Linked DNA regions of Homo sapiens: all the other regions are linked to region 2. The links are contacts of gene promoters, found by promoter capture Hi-C in blood cells and fetal thymus (Javierre and others, 2016). All regions are on one chromosome and are shown on one strand. The core of a region is centred on a gene start or on the middle of the fragment in contact, and the rest is flanking DNA. Distances in the headings are between cores, read along the strand shown. Region 1 holds the start of OR52H1 (olfactory receptor family 52 subfamily H member 1). Region 2 holds the start of OR52N4 (olfactory receptor family 52 subfamily N member 4). Region 3 holds the start of UBQLNL (ubiquilin like).

Evidence for each region. Contacts are between HindIII fragments. The CHiCAGO score rates a contact against its expected background, and 5 or more counts as called.
Region 1: the fragment with the promoter of OR52H1 here is called in contact with the fragment with the promoter of OR52N4 in region 2 in 11 of 17 cell types (activated CD4 T cells, M2 macrophages, total CD8 T cells and 8 more); the score reaches 8.2 in activated CD4 T cells.
Region 3: a contact is called between the fragment with the promoter of UBQLNL here and the fragment with the promoter of OR52N4 in region 2, in 4 of 17 cell types (M2 macrophages, activated CD4 T cells, total CD8 T cells and 1 more). The highest score is 7.1, in M2 macrophages.

The regions. Positions count from the first base shown.
Region 1 is chr11:5,547,107-5,550,790 of GRCh38, reverse strand. It overlaps OR52H1 (olfactory receptor family 52 subfamily H member 1), which reads left to right and starts at 2,251. Exons shown (of 2, transcript NM_001005289.5): 1 at 2,251-2,339. The HindIII fragment of the contact is 4,857 bases long and covers 892-3,684 here.
Region 2 is chr11:5,752,065-5,755,516 of GRCh38, reverse strand. It overlaps OR52N4 (olfactory receptor family 52 subfamily N member 4), which reads right to left and starts at 1,274. Exons shown (of 2, transcript NM_001005175.5): 1 at 1,212-1,274; 2 at 1-824. The coding sequence starts at 776. The HindIII fragment of the contact is 4,248 bases long and covers 1-1,347 here.
Region 3 is chr11:5,514,356-5,518,133 of GRCh38, reverse strand. UBQLNL (ubiquilin like) reads left to right here and starts at 1,435. Exons shown (of 1, transcript NM_145053.5): 1 at 1,435-3,741. The coding sequence starts at 1,693. The coding sequence ends at 3,120. The HindIII fragment of the contact is 7,757 bases long and covers 1-3,778 here.

The sequences.
Region 1 (3,684 bases), core at 1,002-3,501, 210 kb after region 2:
TCAGTAATACTTATTTTTAGGTGTCTGCCAGGCAGCAATGATAATCAATGTCTTATTTCCCTTTCAAATCTGATACGTCCTCAAAACCTGTGGTTTTTTTCTAAATAACCTCTTGGATTCCCCGGCTGAGTGCAGGCACCCTCCTCCCCTACCCCAGTAGTTCAAACCCTCACTGCTTTCACTTGACTCAAAATATCAGAGTTGTTCATGGTCTCTTTACCTTGAGACTACTTTCCCATCCCCGTGCTACTACCCTTTTCACATGTCATTGAATTTTTATTTCTACAATGGCTCTCAACATATAGTTTTAATAGAAAAGAATGTCCTTTGGACTCGGAGAATTGTGTTTGAATTTATAGTCTATCTCTTAACATGTGACAATAGCTACATGCATTGTTTCCAAAATTACTTGATGTATTTTGCATACCATAAATAAAAATATAGTCAGGTCCCACTTAACAATGAGGATAGAGTCTCATAAATGTGTTGTTAGATGATTTTATTATTGTGCAAATATCATAGAGTGTACTTACACAAACCTGTGTGATACAGCCTTGGCTCTCTATTATATTCTATAGCTCCTAGGCTACAAAACTGTACATCATGTTACTATACCGAATATTGTAGGGAAGTATAATATAATGGTATTTGTGCATCTAAACATGTCTAAACATAGACAAGGTACTCTAAAATATGGTATTGTAATCTTATGGGACAATTGTTCAGAAACATTGTTATGTGGCATATTACAAAGTATAAATAGAAAAGGCAAAAAGAAAAGTAGAAAGATTTTTAAAAATTAAGACAAAAAATAGGCCGAAAATACACTTTCCACCTGCTATGAATTTTTGTTCTCTTATTATATGTGGGTCAGAAATTGAGCTGTAAGCTTTCTAACAGTCTATGTGAGAGTTAAACATGATTAGCTACATAATTCATGATGGCTATAAGTTACAGACAGTTAATTGTTAGAGAAGCAAAACTACTTCTTATATGAAGAATGGAGAAATATCTTTAGAAAGCTCTTAAAGAATAGGCAGTAAGTGATGCAATTAATCACATTCTTACAGAATACACAAGTTCATGTGACTCTTCAGTCCCTTATCCTAGTATAGAGAGGTGAAGCAACCTCAATTTTTATTCAGCGAAAGGTAAAAATTCTGTTGGGAGCCAATACAATACTAATCTCATTAGTTCTGGTTTATTCCAGATATTCTAGAACATTCAGAGTACTGAGTGGACTCCTGGCAATCTTTATTAATTAACACATTCAACAATATTTAGCAAACGTTTGACAAACATTGACAAAAACTGACTTGGCTTTCAGAATTGTTGGGTAAAAGCCTCTTAGGTAAAAATTGATATCTGGACTTGCAGAAATTCCTGACAGTACCAGCTGGTAGACCTAACAGTTTCTCCATAAGAATATATTTTATTTGCTCATATTGTTTTTACCAATAAAAATGTTTAATGAAGTTTAATGTTTTAAAAATTATAAGTGGGAGATAAGCTATAGGTATGCAAGGGCACACATAGTAGTATAATGGACATTGGAGACCCAGAAGAGGAGAAGCTAGGAGAGGGGTGAGGGATGAAACATCACCTATTGAGTACAATCTACGCAATATGGGTGACAGGTACGCTAGAAACCCAGACTTCAACCTTATACAATTCACCCATGTAATCAAAAAACACTTGTACCCCTAAAGCCACTGGAATTTTTAAAAGATAATATTAGAATTATTTCATGTGGGCCATATAATTTTCATCTTAACAGGTGCCCTAGGTTATTCCTTTACACCATAAGTTTGCCGATATGTTAAGCATTTTCACTAGCAGTATCCTATTAATTTGTCAATCCTTATAAAATCTTGAGAGACAGGTACTAATATGACCACCTTTTAATGGAAATTAAGTAACTCATCCAAAGTCCTTTATCTGGTAAGTGAGGGCATGAACTTGAAACCTGGGTGATATGATAGGCACATACACACAGCTTTCCACCCACATACACATCAGCTTACAAATAAATAAATAAATAAAGCACTCTAAGGCAGTGTTAACTCAAAGGCATGAACAAGGTTAATAGAATCTTTTTCATCTTCTTCCCTTGAGGGTGAGAAGAGGGCATGTCAGAGTCTCTAATCCCCTAACTACCTACCTTTTCCCCACAAGGAGCAGTGAGTGATCAGAGAAAATAAATGGACAGGGAATCAACCTCTCTAACGTCCTTCCTTTTCCTTCCACTCATGTTTTTTTTTGGTTGGTGTGTCTGCTGTCTTGTAGATTTTGTCAACACACTCTTTCTTCTTTCCCTTTGGCCTGATCCCCAAGATTTGGTGAGTATTGGCTGTTTGAAGGGGTTTGATTGGGACAAGACTTAGAGAAAGTGAGTGAAAAGCCAGGGCTCTATTTCTTAGGGACCATGGGCTGGGCACTATAATTTTCTTTCCTGAGCAACTCCCATTTATAAACTGAGGTCCTGATCTCCAGTACTTGTGTATATGCTCCACTGAGTTAAGCATCAAAAGATCAGAACAGATGGACAATTACACAGCTGCGTTAAGTATGACCACAGTTAGCAGTGTTAGGAAATTTCTGTTTCAGACATGTGACAAGAGTCCATAACTCTAACTTAAAATGTAGAATTAAGTGTGCTGGTATGTGTGTATGCCCAGGGGTGCTCCTGTTAATTTTTATCCATCTTGCAATTTCTGTTCTCTTTTCCACTGCATGGTCTGGTTGTTAATGATAATACTAATGATATAAAATATAACCTAATATAAAGAAGTAAAACTTGTTACATGCTTACTATGTTTCAGGTACTATATTAAAGAATATTTTTCGGCTGGGCGTGGTGGCTCACGCCTATAATCCCAGCACTTTGGGAGGCTGAGGCAGGTGGATCACAAGGTCAGGAGTTCAAGACCAGCCTGGCCAACATAGTGAAACCCGTCTCTACTAAAAATACAAAGAAATTAGCCAGGCATAGTGGCGGGCACCTGTAATCCCAGCTACTCGGGAGTCTGAGACAGGAGAATCACTTGAACCATGGAGGTGGAGGTTGCAGTGAGCCAAGATTGTGCCACTGCACTCCATCCTGGGCAACAGTGCAAGACTCTGTCTCAAAAAAAAAATTCTTTTTTCAATGTGTATCATTTTGTCCTAATAATAATTATAAAAATTAGAAATATTAATTTCTTTTAAAAACATAGGAACCCAAATATCATGTAGTTTAAATAGCTTGCCCAGATTCACATAGCTAGTAAATTGTGGAACCAGGATTAAATTGTGAAACCTAGCTTTCTGAGGCTCCAGAGTACATGCTCTGTGCCAATATTTTGCTAACATACTGTGGATGCCTGAGAGTATGTATGTGTATCTACCATAATACCATAATTATTGCTGATAAAATTAACACTAGTTCCTTTATATCACTCAATACCTAGTCCATATTTAAGTTTCCCTAACTATTCATTAATTGAATTCAATACCTGGTTTGTTTAAACAGAATTCAATCAAGAACTACACTGCAGGCCGAGCGTGGTGGCTCACGCCTGTAATCCCAGCACTTTGGGAGGCTGAGGTGGGTGGATCACCTAAGGTCAGGAGTTCGAGACCAGCCTGGCCAACATGGTGAAAGCCCGTCTCTACTGAAAATACAAAAATTAGCTGGGGGTGGTG
Region 2 (3,452 bases), core at 25-2,524:
AAGAAAGCTGGAGTATAGGAGAAAACAATGGCACAAATGTGGGCAGTGCAGGTATTAAAGGCCTTCTGCCGAGCATCTGCTGAGGAGAGGCTGACCACTGCCCGGAGAATCATGGTATAGGAGTTGGTGATACACAGTATGTCAAAGCCCCAAATCAGGAGGGCAACCATCAGACCATAGATGGCATTGACCTTGACATTACCACAGGACAATTTGGCTACAGACATGTGGTCACAGTAGGTATGGGGAAGTATATTGCCTCTGCAGTAGGGCAGGAGCTTGGTGAGGAAAGTAAAGGGAATAATGAGTAATACCCCTCTCAGGAAGGTGGCAGTCCCAACCTTTGCAATTACAGGATTGGTGAGGATAGTTGAATAGCGTAAGGGGTAGCAGATGGCCACATAGCGATCCAGGGCCATAAGCATAAGCACCCCAGACTCCATCCCTGTGAAGGTGTGGGTGAAGAACATCTGGACAAGGCATTCATCAAATCCAATGTCCTTGAGATGAAACCAGAAGATGCAGAGGGCTTTAGGGATTGTACTAGAGCACATAACAAGGTCAGTAAAGGAAAGCATGGCCAAGAAGTAGTACATGGGTTTGTGCAGGGCATCCTCATAGTGAATGAGGTAGAGGAGTCCACAATTCCCTACCATAGCCACAACATACATAGAGCAGAATGGGAAGGAAATCCAGAGTTGTGTGTCTTCCAGTCCTGGGACTCCATTCAGAATAAATGAAGCTGGTATTAGGTCTGTTTTATTCAGTGTTAGCATGATAAGTCTGGTAGGTTATGAAATAGCTCAAAATTTGTCTGGGCTTTCCTAGAGTTAAAAAAAAAAACAAGAGAAAATATAGGTTATTTTTACTGTCTCCCTCTCCCCCAACTTTTAAAAATTCCATAATGCATTTTAATGGTCCAACAACCAAATTTCTGAGTGCCAAGAAATAATTTTGTTTGTCTGTTTAGTTTTATTGATTGATTAATTAATTGATTCAGTAAAAAATTCTTATTGAGCAGTCTAAGTTTTCAACACAGATGCCAATCAAACATCAATTATTTTATAAAAAGACATATTCCCAATCTCATAGATTTATAATCAAGTATAATTCTGACTTTTCAAATGGTATTTTTATTAGAATATCTTACTTAACTATAACTATACTCATCTCAATATAGATATAATTTTAAAGAAGAGTCATTTGATTACCTCACTGATGATCTGAGAGATGAGATGTTGACTTTTTAATTTTTATTCTTAATGACTGACTGATATTTATTCTTGGGTACTCAGGCACTGTTCAAAGAATTTTGAAATTTTAATTAAATTATTACTCAATGAAGCTTGGGGTCTCAAAAATTAGTAAATTTATTGGGTGTCTATACTCAATAATAATTTAATTGTATATTTTAAAATAACTAAAATAATATAATTGGGTTGTCTGTAACACAAAGGATAAATGTTTGAGATGATGGATACCCCTATTTACTTTACTGGGATTTTTTTTTTTTTTTTTTTTTTTTTTTGAGGCAGAGTCTTGCTTTGTTGCCCAGGCTGGAGTGCAGTGGCGCAATCTTGGCTGCAACCTCCACCTCCCGGATTCAAGCAATTCTCCTGTCTTAGCCTCCCGAGTAGCTGCGACTACAGGCACATGCCACCACGCCCAGCTAATTTTTGTATTTTTAGCAGAGATGGGGTTTCACTATATTGGTCAGGTTGGTCTCCAACTCCTGACCTCAGGTAATCCACCCACATCAGGCTCCCAAAGTGCTGGGATTACAGGCATGAGCCACTGTGCCCGGCCCTTTAAAAGGGATTATTACACATTGTATGCTTCTATCAAAATATCTCATACACCCATAAATATATACACCTACTATGTGCCCACAAAAATTTAAAATTAAAAAAGTCAATGAAGTTTTGATTCAATTTTTTCACTTTTCAAGATATCTTTCTTGTTCTTTATGTATCTAGTCAACGCAAACTAGAAGATATCCAAATGCATACATACAGAAAATATATAAAGTACTTCAACAACATCAGTAAGAAAAAGTTGCAGGAAGAAACATACACTTCAAAAGAGAAATAAAATTGCCAATGAACAGGTAAATAGGCACAAACTTTTATATTAATCAGAAAAATAAGTAAAAATTGTATCTCTCATGACAAAGCACCTTTTTTTGGTATGTAGTGACATACCAAACAGGACAGCTAAAATGAAAAGAACTAAAAATACCAAGCATTGGCAAAGATGTAGAACAACTGGAACTCTCATTTACTGCTGGTAGACATGTAAATTAGAACAACTCTTTATTAGATATCTCATAATGATAAACATACACATGACCACCATTGCCATTTCCAACAAAACTATGTATATATATTTACTAGAATACATCAATTAGAATGCTTATTGAAACATGATTTGTAGTATAGCCTAAAACTGGAAAAAACCTAAATGTTCATCAACATCAAATGGGTAAATAAATTTTGGTACATTCCCACAATGAAATACCACGTAACAATAAGAATAAACAATCTATGACTATATGCATAATATAGACGAATCTCACAATATGTGTTAATTTTTTTTAGAAAGACTTAAAATAGATGTAACATCTTGTGATCTTTAAATGAAATACAAAAACGGATCAAATTATTCTGTGCTATTAGAAATAGAAAAATCTTTTTAAAAAGTGAGAGAGAGTGATAACTGAAAGGCAGTATGTGGTAGAAGGGTCCTGTTAGTTGCTGGTCATATTCCCTTACTTGATTTGGTTGTGAGATATACAAGATTCAGGTTGTAAAAATCAATCAACATGTAATTGGATTAATTGTAAAATTGCATATGTATGTTAGAATTTATAATAACAAAAATTAAATTGCCAAGAGGATTAAAGGACGTAATATGTTAAAACATGCTACCACATTTTAAGTGCTCAATACCCATATTTGTATTTTCTACTCAGGCTGGCAGCCATTTTGGCAATGCTTACAAAAATTAACACCATAGGAATCATGAGTGCCACCAAATGAACTCTCTTTTGTGCCCCATCAGAGGAGGTATTCATCCTAACCTCCATTAATAAAATACACTGTTTTAAGATTAGCATCTGATAGGAAGTACAGTCACATGTTCTGCCTTATTGGGTAAGATGAAGAGGACAGATCAGATTTATCAAAAGGCAACTTGTTTTGAAAATAGTAGAAAAACACAGGTTAAACTTGTTAATAGGCATGCTCCTCAAAGATATGTACTCAAGTCATTACAAAATGTCAGAGTTATACTGGGTGTCATAGGAGCACCTGTGTGTCTAACCTAGCCTCAGGAGATGCTCCTAGAGAAGAGGACAGATGCTTCCAGACCTGGAGCATGATTAGAATTCTGACAGGTCAAAGTGGTAGGAACAGCATTTTCTTCTGTTGCTGTTTGCTGTTTCCTACTCATAT
Region 3 (3,778 bases), core at 186-2,685, 240 kb after region 2:
GAGTTCTGTGATCTAGAATTGTCAATCTCAGGTTGGGAACACCTGATTCCAGTGCAGAAGCTGCAGGGCAGCTGGTCATTAGAGTAGGATATGAAAGTTCCCTTTCTTATCTCCACCTTCCTGTGAGGTCCCTGGGGAGAAAAGGGGCAAGATCTTGGTCTGGTAATCAATTTTTCATTGTCCTGGATCGATCTCACTTTTGAGTGCAATTGCAAGAGAATAGGCCTGAGTCTTGCTGTAGTAAGTTAGCAACTGGCCTTATAGCATGATGAGGATCTGACATGGATGGTGCTGGGGGTCTAGATATTCTCAATAAAGAATCATTGGTTTGATAGCAGAAGGTCTCCTGGCCAACGGCCTATCATCCCTTTGCTTGTCTTCAACACACTGGGAACATATGGGCTCGAGCTTTTTGCTTGTTCCTTAGCTATCTGTGTGGTGCTCCTCCCTCTCCAGGCAGGTGGATGGAATATATAAAATCCAGACCCTGAAGGCTTCCTAGTAACACAGAATATGCATACAATTTCATATATACATTCGATAAGACATGTACACTCTCACTCATATAAATAATTATTTCCATCTGCATCTAAATAAAAACCAAACACAATTCTCCAAATTTACATGGGACCAAGAATCCAGCTTTTTAGTTGCCTGTATTTGTCCCCTTAAGAATTTTACTACTAACCACCTCCTCTCCCACCTCTTGATTTACAGACGACATTCCCCCTTAATGCTTTGACATAAAGGTGGGCACACAAGAGTGGGTTAGGACATTGAAACAAATCATTCTAAAACTTCTGTTATATTGACATGTAGAAGAGACCAAGTGATATGTGAATAAAAGGCATATTATAAAAAAGAGCTAATTCACATTTAGTTTGGCATGTGCCTATGAAGAGCCTTCCTGGTTAGCCCTACTCCTGCTTCCTAGGACAGAGGAAAATTTTCCCCACCACATGGGAGCACAATTAAATATAGAATCCCAAAATCTAGACTCTATATAAGACCCAAATTTCCAGATCATTAAAAAAATTAATGCGCTCCTTCCTATGGGAGAGACTGCATTCTTATAGGAATGTGGCTTTATCTATGGCTTCAGTAGACCCAACTTTTCATACAAGTCTAACATCCCTATAAGGAACATACACACAGTATCACACGGAAACACACATCCCACATTTAAAAATATGGTTTTTATTTACTTTTTTGTTTTCTTACTAGTTCCATCCAGAGAACTTTGTCCCTGTTTTCTGGAAAATTATTTTATTTTATTGTAGAGCCCTGGACCCCTAAATATGTCCTCCTTCCCCAGCTGGCCCAGGGTGACTGCGAGGATAGAGTTGACATCACAATATCCCTTTTCTGAGGATTCATGCCCCTGGTGGGTGGGGTAGGAGGAGGGGTAGCCCTAGGAGAAGTCATCACCACTTTGTCCACCATGGGTGAATTATGAATCAGTAGCTATGCCAGGCCTCAGCTGGGCCACATCTGGAGAACTGGGGTGAGGGCACAACATCACAAAATATCTGGCCCCAGTCTGGTCACTCATCCCTTTTAGGGCAACAAGGAAACTATCCTGTGGCCTGAGAGCACAATACCTGAGACAAAGGCCAGCAGAAACATTTGTCTGCCCTCACCCTTTCTGCCCCAGCTTCCACCTGCTCCCCATCTGCCCACCCACTAAAGCCCATGTGGCATGCCATCTCTCGAACATCCAGGATGTCCCAGAGTGGATGTCCATCAGGTCTGCTGGCAGACAAAAATATCTCTTCAAGTGCCACTCGAGTGATAGTGAAGACTGCAGGCAACCAGAAAGACTTTATGGTAGCTGATGACATCTCGGTAAGGCAGTTCAAGGAGATGCTATTGGCTCACTTCCAATGCCAGATGGACCAACTAGTGCTGGTCTTCATGGGTTGCCTTCTCAAAGACCATGACACACTGAGCCAGAGGGGCATCATGGATGGCCACACCATCTACTTGGTCATCAAGTCCAAGCAGGGCTCCAGATCTCTAGCCCATTCCTTCCGGGACCTGCCAACGAATGATCCCTGCCACCGGGACAGAAACACCAAAGGAAACAGCAGCAGAGTGCACCAACCAACTGGTATGAATCAAGCTCCAGTGGAACTGGCCCACTTTGTGGGGTCTGATGCACCCAAAGTGCATACCCAAAACTTGGAAGTGAGCCACCCAGAGTGCAAAGCACAGATGCTGGAGAATCCTAGCATCCAGCGGCTTCTGTCCAACATGGAGTTCATGTGGCAGTTCATTTCAGAACATCTAGACACGCAACAATTGATGCAGCAGAACCCAGAAGTTTCCCGCCTTCTTCTTGATAATTCTGAGATCCTATTGCAGACTCTGGAGCTGGCCAGGAACCTTGCTATGATCCAAGAGATAATGCAGATCCAACAACCTTCACAAAACCTTGAGTATCCACTGAACCCACAGCCATATCTGGGCTTAGAGACAATGCCAGGTGGGAATAATGCCCTGGGTCAGAACTATGCTGATATCAATGATCAAATGCTGAACAGCATGCAAGATCCTTTTGGAGGAAACCCTTTCACAGCTCTCCTGGCAGGACAAGTGCTAGAACAAGTCCAGTCTTCACCCCCACCTCCACCACCATCACAGGAACAACAAGACCAGCTCACACAGCATCCTGCAACCCGAGTCATCTATAATAGCTCTGGTGGTTTCTCTTCAAACACCTCAGCCAATGACACCCTTAACAAGGTCAACCACACTTCCAAAGCCAACACTGCTATGATTTCCACCAAGGGCCAGAGCCATATCTGTGCCACTCGGCAGCCAGCTTGGATACCAGCCTTACCTAGCATAGAGCTTACCCAGCAGCTTCAAGAAGAATACAAGGATGCCACTGTTTCTCTAAGTAGCTCCAGACAGACATTAAAGGGTGATCTCCAGCTGTCAGATGAGCAGAGCAGCTCCCAGATCACAGGAGGCATGATGCAGTTGCTTATGAACAACCCCTACCTGGCAGCTCAGATTATGTTGTTCACAAGTATGCCCCAGCTGAGTGAACAGTGGAGGCAGCAGCTGCCCACATTCCTGCAGCAGACACAGATTTCTGATCTGCTTAGTGCTTAGGCAACCCTAAAGCATTCCAAGCAATATTGCAGATTGAGCAGGCCCTCCAGCTGCTGGCCACAGAGGCTCCTGTTCTTCTGCCTTGGGTTGCACCCTACCTATGGGGCCTGGGTTGGCTTCCTGCCCCCAGCTGCAGCTATCCTGACACAGTGCCCTGTTCCTGGAATGTTTCAGATACAGCTGAGCCCAAGGGACCTGAGTGCTGCCACAAGCCTGGAACAGTCCTGCAGAGGCTACAATCCCCGGATGGGGACCCTTCCCACCCTCTGCAAGCTCCTGAGATTTGTTTTAGCAAACAGATGGATTCTCTCCAGGCCATGGGATTTGGGAACCACCATGCCAATCTACAGGCACTCATTGCTACTGAAGGGGACACCAATGCTGCTATCCGCAAGCTCAAGAGATCCCAGAGATTCTAACCACCATGCCTACTTGTTTGCTTGCTACCTGCCTGCTGACCCACCTGACCATCTCATTTGCCTTTTGCACCTTTCCTGATGCTTCCAGCCAGGAGAAGTCCTGGAATAAGAGTTATCAACCAATGTGTCTTGTACTGAATAATAGATCATTGGTCGTGGCTGAAACATCTGTCAATAAAATGGCTACACTCACTTGCTGCGATCTGAGGTTTGGCTTTACTTCTTTTGCAAAAAAAAAA